Linked DNA regions of Homo sapiens: region 2 is linked to region 1. The links are contacts of gene promoters, found by promoter capture Hi-C in blood cells and fetal thymus (Javierre and others, 2016). All regions are on one chromosome and are shown on one strand. Each heading gives the region's core, a stretch centred on a gene start or on the middle of the fragment in contact. The rest is flanking DNA. Distances are from core to core; before and after follow the strand shown. Region 1 holds the start of LOC124902620 (a long non-coding RNA gene). Region 2 holds the start of DCHS1 (dachsous cadherin-related 1).

The links. The method cuts DNA at HindIII sites, captures the fragments that hold promoters and counts their contacts. A CHiCAGO score of 5 or more calls a contact.
Region 2: the fragment with the promoter of DCHS1 here is called in contact with a fragment that was not itself captured in region 1 in 1 of 17 cell types (activated CD4 T cells); the score reaches 5.3 in activated CD4 T cells.

The regions. Positions count from the first base shown.
Region 1 is chr11:5,690,169-5,694,593 of GRCh38, forward strand. All of the region lies in intron 1 of TRIM22 (tripartite motif containing 22), which reads left to right. It overlaps LOC124902620 (a long non-coding RNA gene), which reads right to left and starts at 2,586. Exons shown (of 2, transcript XR_007062561.1): 1 at 510-2,586; 2 at 59-128. RefSeq lists enhancers at 1-294, 1-926, 342-441. The HindIII fragment of the contact is 2,438 bases long and covers 628-3,065 here.
Region 2 is chr11:6,653,346-6,657,390 of GRCh38, forward strand. It overlaps DCHS1 (dachsous cadherin-related 1), which reads right to left and starts at 2,464. Exons shown (of 21, transcript NM_003737.4): 1 at 2,218-2,464. The HindIII fragment of the contact is 4,247 bases long and covers 1-3,947 here.

The DNA of each region.
Region 1 (4,425 bases), core at 597-3,096:
CTTCCTTGTTGGAAATAAAGCTCAGAATCTTAAGGGAGACGAGCACTCAAACAAAGGATTTCTCAGCAAAGCAATTTTATTTCTGTGCAGAGGGGTGCTTCTTCTTTGCCAGTCGCCATGAGAGCACACTAGAACAAAGGAGGAAGAAAGTTTTTATTCCTGACGCAAATCCTACCCCTTTGCCCTTTCCCCATTGGCTGGAGTCGGCCACACAATCTAAACTAGACTCAGTTGGCTAAACATTTTAACTTTCTTTAGATAAGGTGGGCACGTGAGGGAGAGAGGGGAGATGGGGAAGGGGTGTGTGTGATGAGCTAGATAACTAATCTTCTTCCAAAATAAGGAAAGGAATGTGAGTTGGTACTGATAACGCCTGGTACTGTGACATGTCTAGGCATGTAGCAAAAGCAGAAAGGAAAGAGAAGAGAAGAAAAGTGAAGTGGGGAGGGGCACTGTGAATTAAAGAATAAAGGATTGATCAGGCTATTTGAAGAGAAACCTTATCATACCCCACATTCCTATTCTGTCATTTTGATTTTTCCATTTTGCCAACGTGGATCAGAATTTTCTTTTATTCAGAGGCAGCAAATTCCTTCCTCCTTTCTCCCGAAGAAGCCTGTGCAATGAAGCTTTGTTTTCACTTTTCATAAAGCAACCTCATGATGAGGTTCAGCAGGGATGAGAGCCCTTATCTGGATCTGGGTATGAGGCGAAGGAGTCTTAGGTACTCAGTCTTCAGAAGTAAGGCCCTTTTGAAGGTTATCCTTTTACTTGCCTTCTGGTAACTTTTTGGATGCTGTCCATAGCTTTCCTGATAAATTAGCAGCCCTCTGGTTAGTCCGAGGAGAGAGGCCGCAGGACGGGCAGACTGCTGCTCATCTCTGCAGCTCCACTTTGGTCTCTTGTCTCTGAAGGTCCAGTCACAGGGAACTTGTTCTTCTGAGTACCCACAGCTTACTCTTCCTTTGTAGCAGGACCAGCCACAGAAAAAACTCCTCAGACACCGAGGTAAAGAAGGAAGGGGTTTATTCGGCCAGGGGCATAGGCAAGACTCCTGTCTCAAGAGCCGAGCTCCTCGAGTGAGCAATTCCTGTCCCTTTTAAGGGCTCACAACTCTAAGGGGGTCCGCGTGAGAGGGTCGTGATCGATTGAGCAAGCAGGGGGTACGTGACTGGGGGCTGCATACACCGGTAATTAGATCGGAACAAAACAGAGTAGGGATTTTCACAGTGCTTTTCTATACAATGTCTGGAATCTATAGATAACAAACCAATTAGGTCAGGGGTCCATCTTTAACTACCAGGTCCAGGGTGTGGCCCCGGGCTGTCTGCTTGTGGATTTCATTTCTGCCTTTTAGTTTTTACTTTTTCTTTCTTTGGAGGCAGAAATTGGGCATAAGACAATATGAGAGGTGGTCTCCTCCCTCAACTTCTGTAGCACCCAATGAACCTCTGGTATCCACTCCTGTTTTAGAAGTTGCTATTATTCTAGGTACACCTTTTCATCATGAGTTACCTCAACTCCCTACTCAATTTTCCCTTGCACAGAGCTAAGGCAAGGAGTTGGTAATTTCTCCTGAGTCTTATCTCGATCTTATCGCTGAGCATTTTGTACCTTGATGCCTATGTCACCCATATTCTGATGTGTCCTTTTCTTTGTTTCACTTTTCAGAGGTCCAGGTAACTGTCTCCTTATGTGTCTGTACCGCACATCTTGTCAAGGTCCATATCTAGTATTTATTCATTGTCAAGTCTAGTACAGGACCCAATAAATAAAACTGTACTTTTAATTTTTGAAAAATATTTTTGACTAAATTCACAAAACAAAAGCATACAGGTATAGTAAAAAAACAAAAACAAAAACAAAAAAACTATCTATTCGATATATAATCAACATTAAATACCGGTAAGAGATTATGCTCTGGACTAGGGAAAAGGAAGTAAACACGCAGTCAAAAAAAGGAAGTAAACCAGCAGTTTTAATGTAGCAAAAAGGTAGCAGTTACTAGAGGATAAATGTAAAACCAATAAAACAAAAGCAACAAACTAAAAGGGCTGCAATAGGATGTGGTATCTGTAGTGCTCTTGTCAAGGGCTTTGCAACTTTAAATAGATTTCACATTAGGTCTCACTGTGAGACAATGATTTTGAGCAGTCTTCAATAAAATGATGGATTTAAGAACTGATGAACTAACTGTGAGAGAAAGAGATGACACTGGGGTAGCTTTATGAAATCTGTCCTCTGTTACAAAATGACTTATCTGAAACATATTGACCAGAGAGTTAGAACTCTTGGAAAAAGGGTCATTACTTGGGGAAAACTAAACCCTGGACATTTTAGTGGGTCATTGAAAAAGGAACTCTGAGTTTAGACAAATAAGAAGTGGTAACGGTGTTTCTGAGTTCTCCAGGTTTCTGCATGCCAAGAACAGGACCTATTTTCTCCATTGGTAGTTCCTGACCCAAGGAACAGGGGAAATTTAAAAGATGTTGGCTAGGCCAGGCACCTGGTGGCTTGTGCCAAAGCCTAGCCAAAAATCCCAGCACTTTGGGAAGCCAAGACTGGAGGACTGCTTGAGTTGAGGAGTTTGAGACCAGCCTGGGCAACGCAGTGAGACCTTGTCTCAAAAAAAAAAAAAAAAGATATTGATGGCTAAACCCCTTATAATTTTTCTCCTTATTGTGTAGCCACACTAATTTAATTTAATCTTTTTTTTTTTTTTTCTTTTGACGGAGTCTTGCTCTGTTGCCAGGCTGGAGTGCAGTGGTGTGATCTCAGCTCACTGCAACCTCCGCCTCCTGGGTTCAAGTGATTCTCCTGCCTCAGCCTCCAGAGTAGCGGGGACTACAAGCAACTGCTGTCACACCTGGCTAATGTTTGTATATATATATATTTTTTAGTAGATACGGGGTCTCACCATAGTGGCCAGGCTGGCCTCAAACTCCTGACCTCAGGTAATCTGCCCGCCTCGGCCCCCCAAACTGCTGGGATTACAGGCTTGAGCCACAGCGCCTGGCCATCTTTTTTTTTTTTTTTTTTTTGATTTAAATTGCACAGATAAAGAAAGCTTCTGTGCAGGTAATCAGAGTATTCTGAAACAAGGAAGCTACGGACCTAGTTAGCCTTCACCGTGTCATAGAAACTTCTACATTCGCACCACCTTCAAAGGGGAGCATGCATTTTGTTTATGTGTCTGTCTGTCTACCTGTCTTAGGTCGGAAGGGTTTCAATGGGGCTACATTTCTTCAATGTTAGAATAAAGAATGAATAGGCCGGGCGCGGTGGCTCACGCCAGTAATCCCAGCACTTTGGGAGGCCGAGGCGGGCAGATCATGAGGTCCGGAGATCGAGACCATCCTGGCTAACACAGTGAAACCCCGTCTCTACTAAAAAGACACCAAAAAATCACCCGGGTGTGGTGGCGGGCGCCTGTAGTCCCAGCTACTTGGAGGCTGAGGCAGGAGAATGGCGTGAACCCGAGAGGCGGAGCTGGCAAGGAGCCGAGATCGCACCACTGCACTCCAGCCTGGGTGACAGAGTGAGACTCCGTCTCAAAAAAAAAAAAAAAAAAAAAAGAATGAATAAATCAAGAAAAATAAGCACTTGTATTAGTTTTCTAGAGCTGTCATAGAAAAAGTACCAAAAGTGGTTGGCTTAAATAGCAGAAATATATTGCCTTACAATTCTGGAGGCTAGTTATCCAAGATAAAATGTGTTGACAGGGCTGGTTCCTTCTGAAGGCTATGAAGGAGGCCTCTGGTCCATGCCTCTCTTCTAGCTTCTAATAGTTTCCTGGAAACCTTTAGCATTCCTTGGCTTATAGGTGCATCACCCTGATCTCTGCTTTCTTCTTCACCCTGGCATATTCCTTGTGTATAAATGTCCCTTTTTGATAAGGACACAGTCATGTTGGATAAGGGTCTACCCTAATGAGCACATGGTAACTAAATAGTATTTAAATATACTAGTTTCAAATAAGAGCACATTCACACATTAGGATTTCAACATCATTTGGGGAGAAACAGGACAGACTTTATCTCTCTGCTACATATTCTCAATGTACTTGGCCTCCTTTATGGATTGAGACTTTTCTCCCATGACCAACAGATGTTTCTTTGAAATGTATATTGAGTCTATATCATGTGTGTGATCCTATAACTATTTTAGCCTCTTTTCCTCTTCCCAAAATATATACATCTTTAGGTTCCTATCACCATCCTTGCCATATGTCCAGGCCAAGGTGAAATTTCAACATTTAAAACCACAGCATGCCCCAGAACTACATAGCTGGTCTGGATCTCTCCATTTCTATACCCCCAATAGCACTGGGTATCAGTATAGCTCTTGTAGCCTTTACCTTTGTTGTCTGTATAAATCTGTGCTGCAGTGGAGAGAACTCTGAAGGAGGACCTTGGGGACAATACA
Region 2 (4,045 bases), core at 1,214-3,713, 960 kb after region 1:
CTGGCCTAGGTTACTCTGCTGTGTGCTGCTGTGTTACAACACTCACTCCACAGCCTGTAAGCTCCATGAGGATAAGGACCATGTCCATTTTGTTCACACTTGTGCTGCCAACTCTCATCACAATGCCTAGCAGAGTAGGTGCCTAGTATGTGTTTGTTAAATGAATGAATTAGCGTTTTGATTAATTAATCTACTGAAAACAATGGTGTGAGGGATGTGGGGTAATGAGTGTGAAGAAAATAGAAAAAAAATCATCTATTTATTTATGAAGGGCCCAGTTGAGGTTTGAATTTTTTAGAAGTATGAATTTATAGAAGCGTCCCCTGGTGTGGTTGAGAAATCATTCTAGTTAGGGGCAATAATTTGAGGGATGAGTATAGAAGACAAGGAAACACAGTGGCCAAGGAGTGGTTGAAGGGATGATCCTTAGCATATGAGCTGGAAAGAAAGCACAAAGTCAGAAAGGAACAGAGTAGGAGAAAACAAAGAGGTCAAGGGCAAGAGGTCATTATGAGGTCAAAGAGTGTAATGGGAGCGAGAACATCTGAAAGCTGGAAGGATATAGGAGGTTGTGGGTAGAGAGAGGAATGCAAGAGTTTAGAATTTTAAAGGTGGAATAGTTCTACAGAGTGGTCCTGGGAGGGAGGAAGGTAACAGGAGCTAAGGAGGTCAAGAATCTGTGAAGCTGTGGTGTTGAAGGACACTGAGAAACCATGGCAGGATACACTATCCAGATCTCGAAGTTTTCAGGGAACAAGAGGGTATACCTGGGAGATCTACGTATGAGAAGGGGTGAAGGTGTGAGCTTGATAAGTTAAGCAGAGTTTATTCAGAAGTTGGGACAGGTCTTCCTGTGGTGTGCATGCCATCCATGACTGTCTCCTGGGGGTTGTACAAGTGGCTGTGTGGTAAGGGCAACTGTGGCACAGCCTCCTGTTAGTGACAGGCTTCTAGGACACCCACTATGTATGGGCAGCTCCAAGGAAGTAAACCTAATAAGATGTGCTGTGACAGTTGTGACAGTGCTTCTGATGGATGTGGATTGCAGTGACAATGTCTCCTGAGAGGTGCTGGTCTACTTGTTTGTTGCTGGTGACAGTGTTTCTGGAGAGTGTTAGCAGTAACAATGTCTTCCATGGTATGTGTTGGCCTTGACAATGAACCGGTGGGAGTATGTTGGTTGCAGCATTTCTCCTGTGGGTGTGTGTTGTCATGAGAGCATTTTCCGTAGGTGTGTGTTGGCTTGATAGAGTCTGCTGTAGGTGTGTGTTGGTTCTGACTGGGGGTGCTTCCTGGGGGTGGGCTTCCTGGAAGTGTATGATGGCTGTGAGGGTATCTCTTGAGGATGTGTGTTCCCTGGGACTGTGTCCTCTTGTGGGTTGAGTAGGGCTATGACTGTGTCCCTATGGGTATTTGAGAAGTTGACATAAGCGACAATATTTTTCTGGCCTATGACCTTGTGGCTGTGGGCCCAGCCCGCCACACTGAGTTCATTGTGCTTCTAGACCTCCCTCTCCCCACCCCCTCCACGTGGGACCCACGCCTGCGGTGACCTTGCTCTGTCCCCTGCACGGGATTCTGAGCTGGGTATCCCAGACACAAACTCCCAGTTGCTCCAATCTCCCACTCAGAACACGTCTGGGTGACCCCCCCCTCCATCCACTTCAGGCTGTGCCTGCCTCTCCTCTGCTTCTCTGTACTTCTCCCCACTCAGTTTCTTTGTCTCTGTCTCAGTTGGTCTCTGTCACACACCCATCCTCCACATTCTGACACATGGGCTCCCACAGAGCGGGCAACACACCCTCACAGGGACTCGCTCACCATGACACACGGTCATTCTGACCCTCACACCCTCAGAGTGACACGCACATGCACACACAGCCAGAGAGACGCCCAGGGACACACAACCTCCCAGTGACACGCACTGACACACTCCGACGATGCACTGGAACACAACGCTGTCGCACCCCACACCCCCGGCGCACGCTCCCGCCGCCACCCTCCCCGACTCGATGACACACGCACACAAAGACCCCCAGGCCCTGCCCCCACGCTCACGTTCACGCCCGCCCGGGTCCCGCAGGCCCAGGCCCCCCCTCCCCCATTGTCTCCGGCTCAGAACAAAGCCCCCGGCTCCGCCGCCGCTGCCGCAGCCCAGGGGAGGCCGGCGGGCAGGGCGGGCGCGGCCAGACGGGCCGGGCGGGCGCGGGCACTGACCTCCGCGCGACGCGGGCTCCCTCGCCCGGTGCTGGGGCGCCGTCCGGCCGCGGTCAGCCCCCCGGGCAGCGCCCGCTCGCGCGGGGCCTGAGGCCGCGCATCGTCCGCAGTCGCTGTCTCCGAGGCCCGCGATCCCCTCCGGGCAGCCGCCGTCGGTCCGCGCGCCCTTGGCCGTCGATCGGTCCGTCCGCTGACGCCCGGGCGCCGCCTCCTGCACAGCCGCCCCGCCGAGGATGCGAGCTCCGCTGCCGCGGCCCCGCGCCCCCTCCCCTCCCCTCCCCCCGCCCTCCGCGCGGTAACCCGAGCCCCCGCCCCTCCGCCCGCGGAGCCCCCGCCCCCGCCCCCACCCGCGCTCCGCGCCGCCGCCCCCCCTTCCCCCCGGCGCCCGCCCGGCCTCCCTCCGCCCCTCCACTTCCCGGCCCCAGGCCCCGGCTCCGGATCCGGCCCCAGCGCCGCGCCGCGCCCCCGTCCCGGTTCCCTTCCCTTCTCCCCGTCACTTCTCCCGTCCTCTCCTCCCATTCGGTTCTCTACGCCCTCTCGTCTCTTCCCCTTCTCGCCGCTCCCTGCTGCTCACCTCCTCCTCTTCCATCTTCTTTCCATCCCCTATTCCCCTCTTCTCCCTCAGTGCCCTGGTCTCCCTCTCGCCCCTTCTTTTTCCCAACCGTCATCTCCATTCCCCTCTGCCTTTCTCCCATCCTCTTCTTCTCGCCCCATCTCCATCATTTTCTCCCCAGCTCTTCTCCCCTTTCTCTTCTCCTTACCCCTTCTGCTTGATCTCTCTCCAGCCTCTTTACATCAGATTCTCCTTCCCCACCTCTCCTTTTATCCTTTTCTTCCTATCCCTTTCTCCCCGTCTCTTCTCCCCACCTTTCTCCCCATCCCCTTCTCCCTGTGTCTTTCGCCTCACCTCATCATCCCCTTTTCCTCACGCCTTCTCCTCATTCCCTTTTCTCACCCCTGCCCTTTTCACTACCCGCTGTCTCTTCCCCTTCTTCCATCGTAACCTCGGCCTTCTCCCCTGTTAGTCACTTTTCATTATCCCATGATTTCTGTCTCTTTTCTCTCCTTCACCCCCAGGCTCCCTTTCCCCCACTTTCTCTTTATCCCAAATTTGAGGGTAGAGATCGGGAGATATTGGAAAGAAGAGCTTTGGGGATGGTGGTCCCACTCACGATATACTCCCTAGAAAAATTAAGTGAGGAGGAAACCGGGCAGGGAAGTGGGAAGGGGCTCAAAAAACCAACTTGGGAGAGAATATGGGGAGAGGGGAAATCAGACAGAGACAAAGAGCAAGCAATCTTAAAGGAACTGGGAAGAGTTCTGACTCCTGTCCTTCTTCCTTAGGACTGCGAGTAGACTGTGAGAAAAACAGGTTTTCTGGACTTGAGATGTGTACAAATGGCACAAAGAAATCAGGAACTTCTGTGGAGAAGGAACACAGTTTCAGCTGAAGAAGAAGGGAGTGTGATTTTGGAAGAGGAGTGAGGGAGAGACTGGGGTCCTTGATCATATCCACGGCGCTTGGGCAGCTGGGTGGATGGATGGTGGTGAGGCTGGCTGTGCTCCACAAAAGGAGCAGCAGGAGGCTGCAGGGGGTTCGTATGAGGAGATGATGACTGTGACTTGGGGCTGCTGACTTTGAAGTGCTGGTTGGGTAGGTAGGTCTGCAACTTAGAGGAGCGGTCTGGGATGGACATAAATATTTGGGAGTCATCTGCAAATGCCGTATAAGCTTGAATATAGGGTGAAGTTTTTGCTTTTTTGTTTTTCCAAAATCATCCCTCAGGAAAGAGGGAGTAACCTTATATTTGAGTCCTTACAAGGTCTC